2 separate regions of the Homo sapiens genome follow, and region 1 is linked to region 2. Evidence: promoter capture Hi-C in 16 types of primary human blood cells and fetal thymus (Javierre and others, 2016). All regions are on one chromosome and are shown on one strand. Each heading gives the region's core, a stretch centred on a gene start or on the middle of the fragment in contact. The rest is flanking DNA. Distances are from core to core; before and after follow the strand shown.

Region 1 (3,500 bases), core at 35-2,534, 89 kb before region 2:
TATTACTACTGGCAAAGAGTCTGCTTCTCTGGTTAGGGTTTGCATTTCTCTCACCTGTGGTGCTGTTCTAGGCTGTGCCACTTCCTCAGAGCAGGAGAGAGAGAGTGGGGTGGACCAACTGGCAAAATTCCCTGAGGTTACAGGCCACCATTTCCCCTTCCTGCTCTATTGAAATGTAACGACTGAGTCAAACCCTAGCCATCCCCCAGGTTGACCCTTTTGTGTACCAAACTATGACTGTTCACCAGACACTTAAAGATGATGGCCATAAGAAAGTTCTGGGAAAACTTGTGGGCTGGAGTCCTGATTCATGCACCAGGCATCAACAATAGCAGATGCAAACACAGACAGCATTTGCACAACAGGGTATGCTAGTATAAGTGATGATAAGCGTAGCTTTTAGCTTTGTAATGCTGATAAAGAACTTGCCAAGAAAATCATTTTTCCTCAAAGGCAACTTGTTATTGCCAAATATCCTGCTCATCTGATTGGACATTGGTTCCTCTATTGTTCATCAATATGCATACAGTACAACTACTGACATTAACTTGCTTATTCAGAGGCATTTACTTCCCTTCTCCCTCTCTCACTGGGTATTTGTTGTGTTTTAGAAAATGGTGAACTTGGCATTTAAAATGCTTAAACCCAGGTCCCAAGTTTATAGCTGTCTTCTTTCCCGCGGATTTAAAATGAGAATATCACTGCAGATGGTTTCTGCAGCTACTGTTAATCCTAAATTGCTCTTATGGACCTCAAATACATCCAACCTTGAGAGACTCTGATAAAGGGATAATTTGTAATCTATGAACTATAAAGTATACTGTAGGTCCCCTCAGGGTTCCTATACTGCACTGCTCCAGGGACACCATTTATGTTGTATTCTGCATGAATGGTGCCCCTTTTGGGTTATGCAAAGCAGTGGCCTGGATATTATATGTAATACTTATACAAAAATAGCTACTATTTATTGATAAACTTACACAATTGTCTCAAATCCATACATTGCAAGAATGAATCACTATCTCTATTTTATATATGCGAAGCTGGAAATTCAGAAAAGTTCAATAAGTTGTCCCACACACACACCTGCCAAAAAAAAAACGTCAATAACTGAGGATGAGGGAATAAGGTTTTAAAACCTGTTTGACTCCAGAGTTTGAGTTTCCCCCATTATGCCATCAATATTAGACACACTTGCAGTAAATGGGTATTTCTTCACTCATTTAACAGATATTTGTTAAATGCCACTAGTAATAATAGTCAACAACTATTGAATGCACACTGTATACCAGGTTGGGGATGCAATGTGGAACAAAACCAACATGGTCCTTGCATGCATGCGGCTTAGTGGTAGGAAAAACATGAGCCCAATAAGACAACAGCTCGTATATTTGTGTTCAGTATGTGAAGGCATTGTTGTTAAGTGGCCTACATACGTATGCTCATTTAATGCTCACACCAATCCTATGAGGTGGATATTATTTTTATCTCTATTTTACAGATGAAGAAACTAAGGAACAAGAGCAATTTACCTAGTATTGCTCAGCTGGTCAGTGACAGATCTGGGATTAAAATCCAGGGAGGCTAGCTCCAGAGTTCATGCACTTAGCTATTAGCTTACTAACAATGACCATGTAAATCATTATCTCATGACTGCTGTGATAAATGTTATAAAGTAAAGGCAAGATGTTAAAGCATACACATTGTATTTATTTTCATTCAAAGGGCATTAATCTCCTAGTTTTTATTAAAAACTTTATATACATTTATACAAAGAAGTTTAGGATGATATATATGTATATATGTGTGTGTGTCTATATATCAAATCTTTAAGCACTATTATCTCTGGATGGTAGAATTTCAGGTAATATCTGAAAATTTATTTTTAATGATTTTTAAATCAAAATTTTAAAAATAATAACATTGATTTTATCATATAAAATGAATACACGGTTTTCATTTGGAAAAAATGTCCCCACTTGATATAAAAACAAGGTTTTTATTTTAAAAATTATCTTTCAGCGGGTCTGAGGAAAAGAAAAAGCTGATGTCCAAATGAGGAAAAAAAATTACAGTGAATCTTTCCATAAGACTTACCTTTGCAGTGGAACTACATAAAAATTGAGAACTACTCCATAAAATTTCTCAACTAAGCATTGAATAAGAGTTATTTGGCTTCAGAAGATCCATACTGTACTCAAATTTTTGAGTAAAAATTTAACAGCATATCTTGAATATTTAAATAAATATTTGCTTCACTTAAACCAAACAAGACAAACACCAGAAAGGACCTGTTCTTCATGGCAGGCCATGCTATAATGTGGAAAAAACAAAGCCTACAAAACCATTCAGAACTGAGTTTAAATCCTGATGCTTCCAGTTTCTAGTCAAATGGCATGCCCCATGCATTTAATCTCTCCAAGGCTCAATTTCCACATATGTACATACAATGGACGGTTGTTATGAGATTAAAGATCATTGTGAGATTAAACATCATGTGTGTAAGGTACTTGGCTCTTTGCTTAATAAATGTTAATTACTCTAATGAGGTAAATATTTTATTTTAATATGAATGCTCAGATTTATACCACAAAGTAGCTTAACCCCACCCCCCCACCATTAACTTTTAGGTTCAGGGGTACATGCACAGGTTTTCTATATAGGTAAATTGTGTGTCACAGGGGTTTGGTGTGCAAATTATTTCATCACCCAGGTAATAAGCACAGTGTCCTATGGGTACTTTTTGATCCTCACCCTCCTCCCACCCTCTATTCTCAAGTAGGTCCCATGTCTATTGTTCCCTTCTTTGTGTCCATGTGTACTCAATATTTAGCTGTCACTTATAAATGAGAACATGTGGTATTTGGCTTTCTGTTCCTGCATTAATTTGCTTAGGATAATGGCCTCCAACTACATCCATGTTGCTGCAAAGGACATGATGATCTTGTTCATTTTTATGGCTGCATACTATTCTGTGATGTATATGTACCACATTTTTTTTTTTTTAGCTAGTCTACCACTGATGGGCATTTAGACGATTCCATGTCTTTGCTATCGTAAATAGTGCTGTAATGAACATATGCATGCATGCGCCTTTACGGTAAAACAATTTCTATTCCTTTTGGTGTATATCCAATAATGGGATTGCTGGATTGAAAGGCAGTTCGGTTTTACATTCTTTGAGGAATCACCACACTCTCTTCCACAATGGCTGAACTAGTTTACATTCCCACTAGCAGTGCATAAACATTCCCTTTTCTCCACAACCTTCACCAGCATCTGTTATTGTCTGACTTTTTAATAGTAGTCATTCCTACTGGTATTAGATGGTATCTTATTATGCTTTTGATTTGTATTCCTCTAATGATTAGTGATGTTAAACATCTTTTCATATGGTTGTTGGATGTGTGAATGTCTTATTTTGAAAAGCATCTGTTCATGTCCTTTGCCCACTTTTTAATGAGGTCATTTTTTTGCTTGTAAATTTGTTTAAATTCCTT
Region 2 (3,542 bases), core at 142-2,641:
TCATGTGAGGTGCCAGATTACAATTTATTGAATGTACTGAATGCATAAAGCATAAGACAGAAACCTGGAGCCATGCAGATACAGGGAACCCAGGACAAGTCATTATGATGCCTCAGACAATATAATTCGCAGATTCTCTATCAATAGCAAAGTAAGATTTAAGGTGCTGTGAAACAGTCAGATCCTTCAAGAAAAACAAGAATACAAGGGGTCCTGGAGACAGGAAAATATGATCATAATAATAAATTTGTGATTCCTTCTTTCTCTCTTTTTCTCTTTCTTTCTTTTTCTTTCTTTCTTTTTTTTTTTTGATGGAGTTTTGCTCTCGTTGCCCAGGCTGGAGTAAAATGGCATGATATCAGCTCACTGCAAACTCCACCTTCCAGGTTCAAGCAATTCTCTTGCCTCAATCTCTCGAGTAGGTGGGATTACAGGTGTCCACCACAACGCCCGGCTAATTTTTTATATTTTTAGTAGAGAAGGGTTTCACCATGTTGGCCAGGCTGGTCTTGAACTCCTGACCTCAGGTGATTCACCCGCCTTGGCCTCCCAAAGTACTGGGATTACAGGCGTGAGCCACTGCGCCTAGCCTCTGTGTGTTAAGTGCTGGAACTATAGTTTACAGTAGCATTTTATCCTCCCAACATACCCTATCAGGAAAAATTATTATTGTCATCCTTATTTCACAGATGTCAAAACTGAACAGAGAGGTACAGTAACTTGCCCAAGACAACACAGCTAGTAAGTGAAACTGAAATCTGGACAACTGATTTTTTTCAGCCAAGCTCTTCAAGCCCGCTGCTATGCTGCAGCTTAGCTGGCGACAGGCCCTTATCAAGGCAGAACTGTGCCTTGATAGAGGCCAGGAAGGCGATTCAGAGCAGTAGGCCTTGTCCATGTGTTTGTTCCCTGCTTCTTCACCACTTGAAAATAGTGTTTCAGTGCCCAGTAACAGGGCACAATACTCTTTTCCTCAGATTAAAAGGGGAGCCATCTGCTTAAGGTGGTTGGGTGCCACTGCACTGCACAGAAGGTTCTCCAAGTGTGAGCTTGGACCCAGGCAGGCCTCAGGTCAGTGGTAACGGACGACTGCTTCCGTGGTGTTGGCAGGTGGAAATGGAGGGATACAGCTTTGTCCGGCTCATGAATCCCTGGGCATTGTCCCGCCTGCTAGAGCCTCTGATCTCTGCCCCTTCTTCACCTGCAGTAAAACAGTCACTAGTTTGGTTGCTCTCCCTAATACCTCTGGTCACTGGGAGCTGTGATCTCACCAAACCCCTGCCAGGAAAAGCCCCAGAAAAAGCGGAGGGAGTGAGAGCCAGAGGCTGCTGCTGCCGTTTGCAAGAACTGCAGGGGAGGAGGACGCTGCCACCCACAGCCTCTAGAGCTCATTGCAGCTGGGACAGCCCGGAGTGTGGTTAGCAGCTCGGCAAGCGCTGCCCAGGTCCTGGGGTGGTGGCAGCCAGCGGGAGCAGGAAAGGAAGCATGTTCCCAGGCTGCCCACGCCTCTGGGTCCTGGTGGTCTTGGGCACCAGCTGGGTAGGCTGGGGGAGCCAAGGGACAGAAGCGGCACAGCTAAGGCAGTTCTACGTGGCTGCTCAGGGCATCAGTTGGAGCTACCGACCTGAGCCCACAAACTCAAGGTAACTCAGGTGTGGAGTCCGGGTGGGCTTCTCTAGAGAGGAAAATCTATTTCTTTTAGAGAACATTCCCTTTGCAATGTCATGGCTTTTTTTTTTTTTAACTTCAGGTAAGTAAATATAACTAATAGGAGAGTATACTGAATTAAATAAACTGGGCAAATGCTAATTTTGCATCCAACAATGTAGTTTATCATTCTGAGGGTTTAGAAAGCACCCTATTTGATTGGTTAGATGCTACCTTCTTTTCAAGTTTATTTTCAATACAGTTTTGTTAGTATGTTTGTGTTGGCTTATATATTGGTTAATTCAAAGGCACCAGGCACTTGCTCCCTCATTAGCCCTTCCTGCAAACTCCTGTTCCAGATTTTTAGTTGTATAGTATTTTTATGAGACTCCTAGTTACATATTATTTATTCCATTGTCTACATAGCTTCATCTTCTAAAACTAAAAATGAACACCTTGTGCTTTTTGTCATATAATTTTATTGCTGCCTTATAAATGACTTTCAAAATATCATCAGTTCTTGTATGTTTTTGTACTTTCACCTTTTTTCTGCTTCATATTTGACTTATTTATCCTATTGAATGTGACTCTTCATTTTTTTTTCTCTCTGTTCATCATGTCCTGGGATATGGTTTACCTTGGCTACTTAAAGGCATATGTAACTGAGAGGAGGTTTAATTCAGATAAAATACTATCCTTGAGTTGCAAACTATTTTTTCTAATTGAAATGTTAAAAATAAGACTTCTCAGAAATTAACTAAATCATACAGTCTATTCAATATTTCCAGTTAGTTATTTTTTAAATGGTAAACCTGCTAGTGTGACTCACTTTTTTTCCTTACATCACACTTCATTATGAAAGATGTGTTCCTCTTTTACAATTACAAAACCAAAGTAATCTGCCAAAAAATAATGTAATATTTTGAGATCTTTTAGTGTATAATATTAACCTTTTTAAAACTCTCATTGTAACTGGGTTATTTTGGAGGGTATTACATACCATCTTGGTCTTATAATAAGAAGAGATCCCTCCTTCTCAAAAATAATCATTTTAAATATCGTACTTCAAAGTGATAATCTAGGTCACACCCACACCCTTTGGGAACTGCCGTAAGCTAAAACCCCAAGGAAAATAACAGTCCTTCTAACACTAATCTTGCCTGCTCATGAGTAGAATGCAGACTTGGTTGTTGGCTTTCTTGTAGCATGCTGGGTTCATGCTTGGGAGTTTTTTCTCTTGTCTGTAGTTAGCGTTGAAAATAACAAGCAAAATACCGGAGGCAGAACCAGATAGGGCAAAGGTCTGATTCACATGGTGAGTACACAGGGAACCATGACTGGTCATTCTGTCCCCTCATCCTGTGGGTAAGTTTCCAAAGTTCTGGAGATTCGTTCCTCTGGTAGGAATTGTTGAGTCAAAACCATAGAAACACAACCCAGACAAACTGTCATATTGTTTAACCCTAAATCATATCATTTCTCTCTAGCATTTTCTTATGAAAAATCTAATCCATATATCTGGCTGCTTAAACTAAGAACTTGTTCTAACTTGTCCTGCCCCTAGAGCTATGATACTCACTAGGTGAATATCAACATAGCCAACTCCATCTTTTGGCAAAGTGTATTTTAGCACAAAGCAGACATCTATCTACTTATTTCATATAATATTAGCAGGACAATGCCTTTTAAAGGTAAAATGTATCTATTATTCTTGCTCCAAGTCTAAGGTGAACACTTTCAAAAATTTCCTTAGAAAACTTGTTTAGTCACTCACATGTATACAAAGAGATATTGAAGAAAAGATATACATACATTTTCCTTCTAGGGTTCTAGCTTTATATGATTTTGTGATTATGAACAAATCATCTTTAAACAATCCTTATAAATGAAAAACT

The links. The method cuts DNA at HindIII sites, captures the fragments that hold promoters and counts their contacts. A CHiCAGO score of 5 or more calls a contact.
Region 1: a fragment that was not itself captured here is called in contact with the fragment with the promoter of F5 in region 2 in 1 of 17 cell types (neutrophils); the score reaches 7.3 in neutrophils.

The regions. Positions count from the first base shown.
Region 1 is chr1:169,672,931-169,676,430 of GRCh38, reverse strand. The region is part of intron 1 of LOC107985745 (a long non-coding RNA gene); the gene reads right to left. Among named protein-coding and RNA genes, the nearest start is that of SELL, 37 kb to the left of the region's middle. The HindIII fragment of the contact is 7,849 bases long and covers 1-3,500 here.
Region 2 is chr1:169,584,330-169,587,871 of GRCh38, reverse strand. F5 (coagulation factor V) reads left to right here and starts at 1,391. Exons shown (of 25, transcript NM_000130.5): 1 at 1,391-1,643. The coding sequence starts at 1,486. RefSeq lists enhancers at 916-1,415, 1,416-1,917. The HindIII fragment of the contact is 11,391 bases long and covers 1-3,542 here.